3 separate regions of the Homo sapiens genome follow, and regions 2 and 3 are each linked to region 1. The links are contacts of gene promoters, found by promoter capture Hi-C in human tissues and cell types (Jung and others, 2019). All regions are on one chromosome and are shown on one strand. Each heading gives the region's core, a stretch centred on a gene start or on the middle of the fragment in contact. The rest is flanking DNA. Distances are from core to core; before and after follow the strand shown.

Region 1 (3,011 bases), core at 337-2,836:
TTCAGCCCTCTTCCAGGACCTGCCCCAACCGGCCTATCCAGGACTGAAACAACAGCATGGGCCCCACCTCCACCCCACCATATGCCTGGGACCTAGGGTGTCAAATTCCCCAGGACCTCCAAACACTTCCTCCTCTGCCCCTCTGAGAACAGCAATCCTGGTGCACACCCACGAACCTGTGGGGGTACCCACACCTCCACCTGGCCTCCCAGACCCTTGACCGCAGGGGCTCTCCACCCAGCCTAGCCCCTGGCACCAGAGCCCTGGCCCAGCTCCAGGTTTTGCATTCTGCCCTTGTGACCTGGCCAGGAGGTGGGTAACTAGGGCCAGTTTCTTCTTCTTTTTTTTTTTTTTTTTTTTTTGAGACCGAGTCTCACCCTGTTGCCCAGGCTGGAGTGCAGTGGCATGTTCTTAGCTCACTGCAACCTCCACCTCCCGGGTTCAAGCGATTCTCCTGCCCCAGCCTCCCAAGTAGCTCAGACTACAGGCGTGAGCCACCATGCCTGGCTAATTTTTGTATTATTAGTAGAGACAGGGTTTCACCATGTTGGCCAGGCTGGTCTTGAACTCCTGACCTCAGGTGATCCACCCACCTCGGCCTCCCAAAGTGCTGGGATTACAGGCGTGAGCCACTGCGCCTGGCCTACTAGGGTGAGTTTCTAAGGCAGGAGCTGAGAGTAGACATGGCTAGTAGGGTGCTCAGGAGGGCAGGAGGAGGGCTGTTTATGAGCCAGTGGTGGGAGAGAGTGTCATTCTAGTCTGAGAGGCTTTTTCCCTGTGGCTTCCAGCTCTGCCCTTTTCTTAAACACTCCTTCAGCCTCAGCTTGGCTTCAGTCCCACCAAGTGCAGTCTGACTCGTGGAGACATGAGAGATAGAGAGAGTGAGAGACCAGAGAGATCAGGAGACAGTGACTGAGAGGGACTTACAGGGAGATCAGGGAGAGAAGCAGAGAGAAGGAGAAAGCCCAGAGAGCATAAGAAATGAAGACCCAGAGACACCAAAGGAGGGAGAGACAGAGACACAGAGAGACAAAAAGATTCAGAGGCAGAGACTGTAGAGGCAGAAGCAAAGCAAGACACAGAGCATTTCAGAGACCCACGGCAAGAGACAGGGAACAGCATGGAGAACTATGAAAAAATAGGCTTCCAGAGAAAGAGAAAACTCCAGCTCTGGAGGGAAAGGGACTTAGCCAGGGCCACTCGGCCCATCAGTGGCAGAAATGGACTTGAACCCAGAGAAAAAGAAACAAGTGCCCCAAATACCAAAGGAACCCAGCCCCCATCCCTGGCCCATCATTTTGCGACAGCCCCATGACTACCCCAAAACCAGGCCCAGGCTCCAACTGGCAAAGCAAAAAAAAAAAACAAAGAAAGAAAGAAAGCTTTGCCCCATCCCAGGAGGGCCCCCAGGCGCAGCCCCCTCCCACGGCACCTTTCCAGCTGGCTGTGAGCCCTAGGGCCGCAGGAAAGGTATGGCAAGATGATGGGAGGGATTTAAAGTTCACAGCGAGAACAAGAAAAGTGGGGTTAAGGAGGAGGGTGTGGGCAGAAACAACTTAAGAACAACCTCTGCCCCACCACCCCCCAAGCACACCCAGAGCTGCAGGCTCTAGCGCATCCCAGCCAGTGTCTCCTGCAGCTCAGCAGGTAAAGGGCCCCGGTGAGGGAGGCAGAGAAGGAGGGGGTGTCTCCCAAGAGAGGGTGGGTCGCCAGCTCCAATCTCTGTCTCTGAGACTGGCTAGGAATCTTTTTTGCTGTTTCCTCTGAGAGCTCTCATGTCCCTGTTCTGAGCACTGGGATTTCTTTACTGGTGCTTCACCAAGTAGGTGGCTTCTCTCTCTGCAATGCAACCCCATGGTTGGCAACACTTGATTTTTTCCTGTCACTGTTTCTGCCTGTGCCCTTCCTCTCTGTCTCCGTCTCTTTCTCTCTCTCTCTCTCTCTTTTTTTTTTTTTTTTTTTTTTTGAGGCTGGAGTGCAGTGGTTCAATCTCAGCTCACTGCAACCTCCACCTCCTGGGTTCAAGCGATTCTCCTGCCTCAGCCTCCTGAGTAGCTGGGATTACAGGTGCCTAACACCACGCCTGACTAATTTTTGTGTTTTTAGTAGAGACAGGGTTTCACCATGTTGGCCAGGCTGGTCTCAAACTCCTGACCTCAAGTGATCCGCCTGCCTCGGCCTCCCAGAGTGCTGGGATTACAGGCGTGAGCCACCGTGCCCGGCCTCAGTCTCTCTTGGTCTGCCCTTTGCAGCCTACCCGTCTCTTTGTGTGGCTCTAATATTCCCTGCCTCTCTTATTCTCTCTCTCTCTCTCTCCATCTCTGTCTATGTGACTCTGTCTTTGTGTATCTGTTTCTGTCTGTCATTCTCGTCTCCCTCAGTCTCTGTGTCTAGCTCTGTCTCTCCCTCTCTCTGTCCCTCTTACCCTTTTTCTCTCCATCCTTCCATGTCCCTCTCTGTCTCTCAGTCAGTGTCCATCTCACTGTCTCTCCACTCAATCTCCCTTGTCTTTCTCTAGCTCTGTGTCTGTCTAGTTCTGTCTCTTTCTTTCTCTAGTCTATGTCAGCCTCTCTCTTTCTGTGATGTGCTCTCTGGCTCTCCCTATCTCTGTGTTTGTCTGTCTCTGTCCCTGTGTGTCTTGATCTCTCTTTATCACTGTCTCTGTATGACAGTCTCTTGACAGACAGGTGATGATAGATAGATAATAGACAGATGATACACAGATGATAGATTATGAAGATAGTAGATAGATGATAGATATAGATAGATAATAGATGATAGATAATAGACAGATCAATGATAGATGATAGAAGAATAGATAGATGATGGATAGACAGATGATAGATGATAGATAGATAGATAGATGATAGATAGATGTTGATAGATGTTAGATAATAGATGAGAAACAAAGAAAGAAAGAAAAAGAAAAAAGAAAGAAAGAAAAAGAAAGGAAGGAAGGAAGGAAAGAAAGAGTGATAGATGATAGATGGCTGATAGGTAGACAGACATCT
Region 2 (3,011 bases), core at 147-2,646, 59 kb after region 1:
TATGCCCCCAAGAGAGAAAAAGTGTTCTTAAAAATGACACAAAAAAGCACAAACATTACTGAAAAGATTGATAAATTGGACTACATTCAAATGTAGTTCATCAAAGACACCAGGAAGGGCTGGGCGCAGTGGCTCACGCCTGTAATCCCAGAACTTTGAGAGGCTAAGGCGGCAGATCCCTGAGATGGGGAGTTTGGCAGATCCCTGAGATGGGGAGTTTGAGACCAGCCTGACCAACATGGAGAAACCCCATCTCTATTAAAAATACAAAATTGGCTGGGTGTGGTGTCACATGCCTGTAATCCCAGCTACTCAGAGGCTGAAGCAGGAGAATCCCTTTAACCTGGGAGCCAGAGGTTGCGGTGAGCCGAGATCGCGCCATTGCACTCCAGCCTGGGCAACAAGAGCGAAACTCCAATTCAAAAAAAAAAAAAAAGGCACCAGGAAAAGAGTAAAACAGGGCCGGGCACGGAGGCCCACGCCTTTAATCCCAGCACTTTGGGAGGCCAAGGCGGGCGGATCACTTGTGTCCAGGAGTTCCAGACCAGCCTGGTCAACATGGTGAAACCCCGTCTCTACAAAAAATACAAAAATTAGCCCAGTCTGGTGGCATGCGCCTGTAGTCCCAGCTACTTGGGAGGCTAAAGTGAGAGGATCACTGGAGCTTGGGAGGTTGAGGTTGCAGGGAGCTGAGATCGTGCCACTGCACTCCAGCCTGGGCAAGAGAGTGAGACCTTGTCTCAAAAAAAAAAAAAAAGAAAGAAAGAAAATTGTAGGTGAAGGTAGAAGTATCTCCAGTGATCTTCAAGACTGGCACAATATTCTAAAAAGATACATTTGAACATAAAAATAAATGTTAACCAGACATCGTTTTTAGAATTATACAATACAAATTCTGGTGGGGAGTTGGCTGAGAGCCCCTCCTCCAGCTTCCTGGTGGTGGCGGTGTTCCACCTCCTGGGTCCCCACCCTCAGTCTCCCTTGCTCTGCCTTCTCCCCCACCCCACCTCCACATGCTAGAAACCAGGTCCTCTTCTCACCCTCTCTCCCAGGTGAGCCTGGTCACTCACAGAGCTGCAGAATCTGCTGTCTGTCTGCCAAGGACTCCCAACTCTGTGTCCACAGCAAGGATCTGTGCTAAACCACACTGGCCTTGCTGGGCCTCCAGCGCCATACACTCCCTCTTATGGCTTGTAACAGGTGTTTCCCCACCTGGAATGTTTGCTCTCCTCTCTCCTCCAAAGTCCTGCCCCTCCCTGAGGTGAGAAATCAGTTCCCCCACCTCCCCCACAGCCCCAGCACTCTGTGCTGAAATCATCATCAAAAACCCTGGTCTCCTCCAATCCCTCCTGCTACCCTCTCAGCCACCCAACATGCTATTCCCCCTGCAGGAACACTCTTCCCCATGATCTTTCTCGAGTCATTCTTCAGATCCATGTATCCCCTCCTCCAGGAAGCCCTCCCTGATACTCACCACTCTCCGGCCAGGGCAGGCACTTACTCTGGGCTCCCACAGGCCCCCTGGCCTCCCCCATCCCAGCCCCGACCACTCTGGGCAGTCAAGGTCTGGTGACTAACCTGCCTCCTCAACTGGACTGTGGGCCCCATGGGGGTAGGGCTGTCTCTGTCTCTACTGCCTCCCCAGCATCACCCAGTCAGGCCTGGATGCAGGCCTGGCATCAACTCTGCATAAAGGAGCGGAGGTCAGGAGTTCCCTGGGGCCTCAGTGCCTGGCACTGGTGGAGGGGCTTTCTGCATGCCACACTCTGGATCTTCTCCAGCTACTCCTTATTCTGGAAGCTGCAGCATGTTGAAATAAAAACTGGAACTAAATGGAGATGGAATGGACTTCACATTTGGACACATGGGTGTGTAAAGAGGAACGTGACTTCTCCAAAGTAACGCATAGAGGCCGGGCGCAGTGGCTCACGCATGTAATCCCAGCACTTTGGGAGGCCGAGGCAGGCAGATCATTTGAGGTCAGGAGTTCGAGACCAGCCTGGCCAACATGGTGAAACGCCATCTCCACTATAAATACACAAATTAGCTGGGCATAGTGGCACATGCCTGTAATCCCAGCTACTCCGGAGGCTGAGGCTGAAGAATCACTTGAACCCAGGAAGCAGAGGTTGCATTGAACCAAAATCGCACCACTGCACTCCAACCTGGGTGACAGAGCGAGACTCCGTCTCAAAAAAAAAAAAAAAAAAAAGTAACACACTAACCTCCTGACCCACCCAGAGTGGGTCTTACCTTCTAGAAAGATAGAAAAGAATAGAACCAGGCCAGGCTGACTCTGGCAGCTTTAGAACAATAGTAATGGCAGGAGTGGCCGGCGATGGACAGCTGGGGGTGGGACTGAAATAGACAGCAGCCAGGGAATAGTGGGTTGAAGGGAGAAAGGGAGTTATTTTTCTGTAGTCTTTGAAATTTTATTTTTCTCTTTCCTTTTTTGGAGACAAGGTCCTGCTCTTTTGCCCAGGCTGGAGGGCCATGGCGCGATCATGGCTCACTGCAGCCTCGAACTTGAGCGATCCTCCCTCCTCAGCCTCCCAAGTAGGTGGAACTTCAGGCGTCTGCCACCACACCCAGCTAATTTTTAAATTTTTTAAATTTTTTCTAGAGATGGGGGCCTTGCTATGTTGCCCAGGCTGGTCTCGAACTCCTGAGCTCCAGCGATCCTCCCACCTTGGCCTCCGAAAGGCCTGAGCCACCGTACCCGGCTGAAATTTGTAATCAACCCATAATCATCTATTACTTATGTAACTGAATTCCTATGAAAAGCATAATAAAGTGGAGATCATAAAGGTGCCGACTTCGGGCTGTTGTAAGATTTCGGTGCCACACCTAGCACAGAAAAAGCATGGAGAGCAGAAGGGCAGTGAACGCCAGCTGGCACACGTTGGCTACGTGCAAGTATTCGCCTAAACGCTGCGCAGGTATTCATCATATGATCCCCATAAACCTCTGAGGGCTGCACTCACATGTCATCCCCGATCTGCTGATGAGAA
Region 3 (3,011 bases), core at 195-2,694, 36 kb after region 1:
AAAAAAAAAAAAAAAAAAAAAAAAGAGGCCGGGCACAGTGGTTTATGGTTTATGCCTGTAATCCCAGCACTTTGGGAGGCCGAGGTGGGTGGATCACGAGGTCAGAAGATGGAGATCATCCTGGTTAACACAGTGAAACCCCGTCTCTACTAAAAATACAAAAAAATTAGCCAGGCGTGGTGGTGGGCGCCTGTAGTCCCAGCTACTTGGGAGGCTGAGGCTGGAGAATGGCGTGAACCCAGGAGGTGGAGCTTGCAGTGAGCCAAGATCGCGCCACTGCACTCCAGCAGCCTGGACAGAGTGAAACTTCGTCTCAAAAAAAAAAAAAAAAAGAAAAAGAAAAGCCAAATGGAAGGATTTATATTAATATCAAAATTTATAATAAAACTACAGTAATAGGCTGGGCACTGTGGCTCATGCCTGTAATCCCACCACTTTGGGAGGCCAATGCAAGAGCCCAGAAGTTCACTTGAGCTTAGAAGTTCAAGACCAGCCTGGGCAATATAGTGAGAACCCATCTCTACAAAAACTTAAAAAACTAGCCAGGCATGATGGCATGTGCCTGTGGTCCTAGCTATTCAGGAGGCTGAGGTGGGAGGACCGCTTGAGCCCAGGAGGTCTAGGCTGCAGTGAGTCATGATGGCACTGCTCCACTCCAGCCTGGGTGACAGGGCAAGACTCTGTCTCAAAAAAACAAAAAACCACACACACACACTACAGTAATAAAGGCAAGGTGTACTGGGATTCCGATAGAAAGAGATGAATGGAATAAACTAGGAAGTCCATAAATATGTGGTCAATAGAATTTTTTTTTCTTAGAGTTGGGGGTCTCACTGTGTTTAACAGGCTGGTCTCAAACTCTTGGACTCAAGCGATCCTCCTGCCTCAGCCTCCCTCACCTGCTTTCAATTGATTACTGACAAAGATGCTAAGATAATTCAGTGGAGAAAAGACAGTATTTTCTTTTTCTTTTTTTTTCTTTTTTTTTTTTTTTTTTTTTTTTGAGGAGTCTTGCTCTGTAGCCCAGGCTGGAGTGCAGTGGCTCAATCTTGGCTTACCGCAAACTCTGCCTCCCGGGTCCCAGTTCAAGCAATTCTCCTGCCTCACCCTCCCGAGTAGCTGGGACTACAGGCATGCATCACCATGCCCAGCTGATTTTTGTATGTTTAGTAGAGACGGGGTTTCGCCATGTTGGCCAGGCTGGTCTCGAACTCCTGACCTTGTGATTCACCCACCTTGGCCTCCCAAAGTGCTGGGATTACAGGTGTGAGCCACCACACCTGGCCAGTATTTTCAACAAATGGTAGAATGACTAAATAGCCTCATGGAAACAAAACGAACCCTGCCTTTTACTTCACATCATACACAAAAATTAACTTGAAATAGGTCAGAGATCTAAAAGTACAGACTAAAGCTAAAGAACTTCTAAAAACATATTTTCAAAACCTTGAAGTAGATCTTTTTTTTTTTTTAACATGGGACTCAAAAATCACTAATCATAAAGGAAAAAATTGACAAACTGGACTTAGTCAAAAATAATACTTTCAGCCAGGCACGGTGGCTCATGCCTCTAATCCCAACACTTTAGGAGGCCAAGGTGGGAGGATTGCTTGAACCCAGGAGTTCTAAACCAGCCTGGGCAACGTAGTGAGAACCAGTCTCTATATTTAAAATAAATAAATAAATAATAGTAGTACTTTTGCTCATCCAAAACCAGCATTAAGAAAATATACGGACCGGCCAGGCGTGGTGACTCACACCTGTGATTCCAGCACTTTGGGAGGCCAAGGCAGGCAGATCACCCGAGGTCAGGAGTTTGAGACCTGTCTGGCCAAACCCCATCTCTACTAAAAATATAAACATTAGCCGGGTGTGGTGGCACACGCCTGTAATCCCAGCTACTCAAGAGGCTGAGGCAGGAGAATTGTTTGAACCCAGGAGGCAGGGGTTGCAGTGAGCCAACATTGTGCCACTGCACTCCAGCATGGGCAACAGAGAGAGACTCCATCAAAAAAAAAAAAAAGGAAAGAAAGGAAAAGAAAAGAAGATATATAGACCAGGCACAGACCAGAAGAAAATATTCACAACACATATATCTCACAAAATAACCCGTGCCTGAAATATCTAAACAACTCCTATGGCTCAATAAAAAAAAAAAAAAAAAAGCCCAACCAGCCGGGCACGGTGGCTCACACCTGTAATCCCAGCACTTTGGGAGACCAAGGTGGGGTGGATCACGAGGTCAGGAGATCGAGACCATCCTGGCTAACATGGTGAAACCCTGTCTCTTCTAAAAAAATACAAAAAATTAGCCGGGCATGGTGGCACACGCCTGTAGTCCCAGCTACTCGGGAGGCTGAGGCAGGAGAATGGCGTGAACCTGGGAGGCGAAGCTTGCAGTGAGCCGAGATCGCGCCACTGCACTCCAGCCTGGGCGACAGAGTGAGACTGCGTCTCCAAAAAAAAAAAAAAAAAAAAAGCCCAACCAAAAAATGGCCAACAGGCTATAAAAAGGTGTTTAATGTCATTAGCCAACAGGAAACACAAATTAAAACCACACTGAGATACCACCACACACCCATAAGAAAGGCTAAATGGAAATATGCAAACAGCACCTAGTGCTGGCAAGGATCACCAGAACTCTCGTTCATGACTATGGGTGTATAAAACGTACAACTGCTTAGAAAAAGTTTCTGCAAATTTCTTAAAAGTTTAGCAGGCCAGGCGCAGTGGCTCGTGCCTGTAATCCCAGCACTTTGGGAGGCCGACGCGGGTGGAACACGAGGTCAGGAGTTCGAGACCAGCCTGGCCAACACAGTGAAACCCCGTCTCTACTAAAAATACAAAAATTAGCCAGCCGTGGTGGCAGGCACCTGTAATCCCAGCTACTCAGGAGGCTGAGGCGGGAGAATTGCTTGAACCCGGGAGGTGGAGGTGGCAGTGGGCTGAGACCACACCATTGCACTCCAGCCTGGGTGACAGAGTAAGACTCCATCTCAAAAAACAAACAA

The links. The method cuts DNA at HindIII sites, captures the fragments that hold promoters and counts their contacts. A contact is called where the count stands out against the background at its distance.
Region 2: a contact is called between a fragment that was not itself captured here and the fragment with the promoter of CYP2F1 in region 1, in 2 of the 25 tissues and cell types used here (IMR-90 fibroblasts and aorta).
Region 3: a fragment that was not itself captured here is called in contact with the fragment with the promoter of CYP2F1 in region 1 in 2 of the 25 tissues and cell types used here (psoas muscle and spleen).

Annotation. Positions count from the first base shown.
Region 1 is chr19:41,112,846-41,115,856 of GRCh38, forward strand. CYP2F1 (cytochrome P450 family 2 subfamily F member 1) reads left to right here and starts at 1,587. Exons shown (of 10, transcript NM_000774.5): 1 at 1,587-1,647. The HindIII fragment of the contact is 13,902 bases long and covers 1-3,011 here.
Region 2 is chr19:41,171,540-41,174,550 of GRCh38, forward strand. The region is part of intron 2 of LOC124904790; the gene reads right to left. Among named protein-coding and RNA genes, the nearest start is that of CYP2S1, 20 kb to the right of the region's middle. The HindIII fragment of the contact is 4,900 bases long and covers 1-3,011 here.
Region 3 is chr19:41,149,404-41,152,414 of GRCh38, forward strand. The region is part of intron 2 of LOC124904790; the gene reads right to left. Among named protein-coding and RNA genes, the nearest start is that of CYP2F1, 36 kb to the left of the region's middle. The HindIII fragment of the contact is 5,706 bases long and covers 1-3,011 here.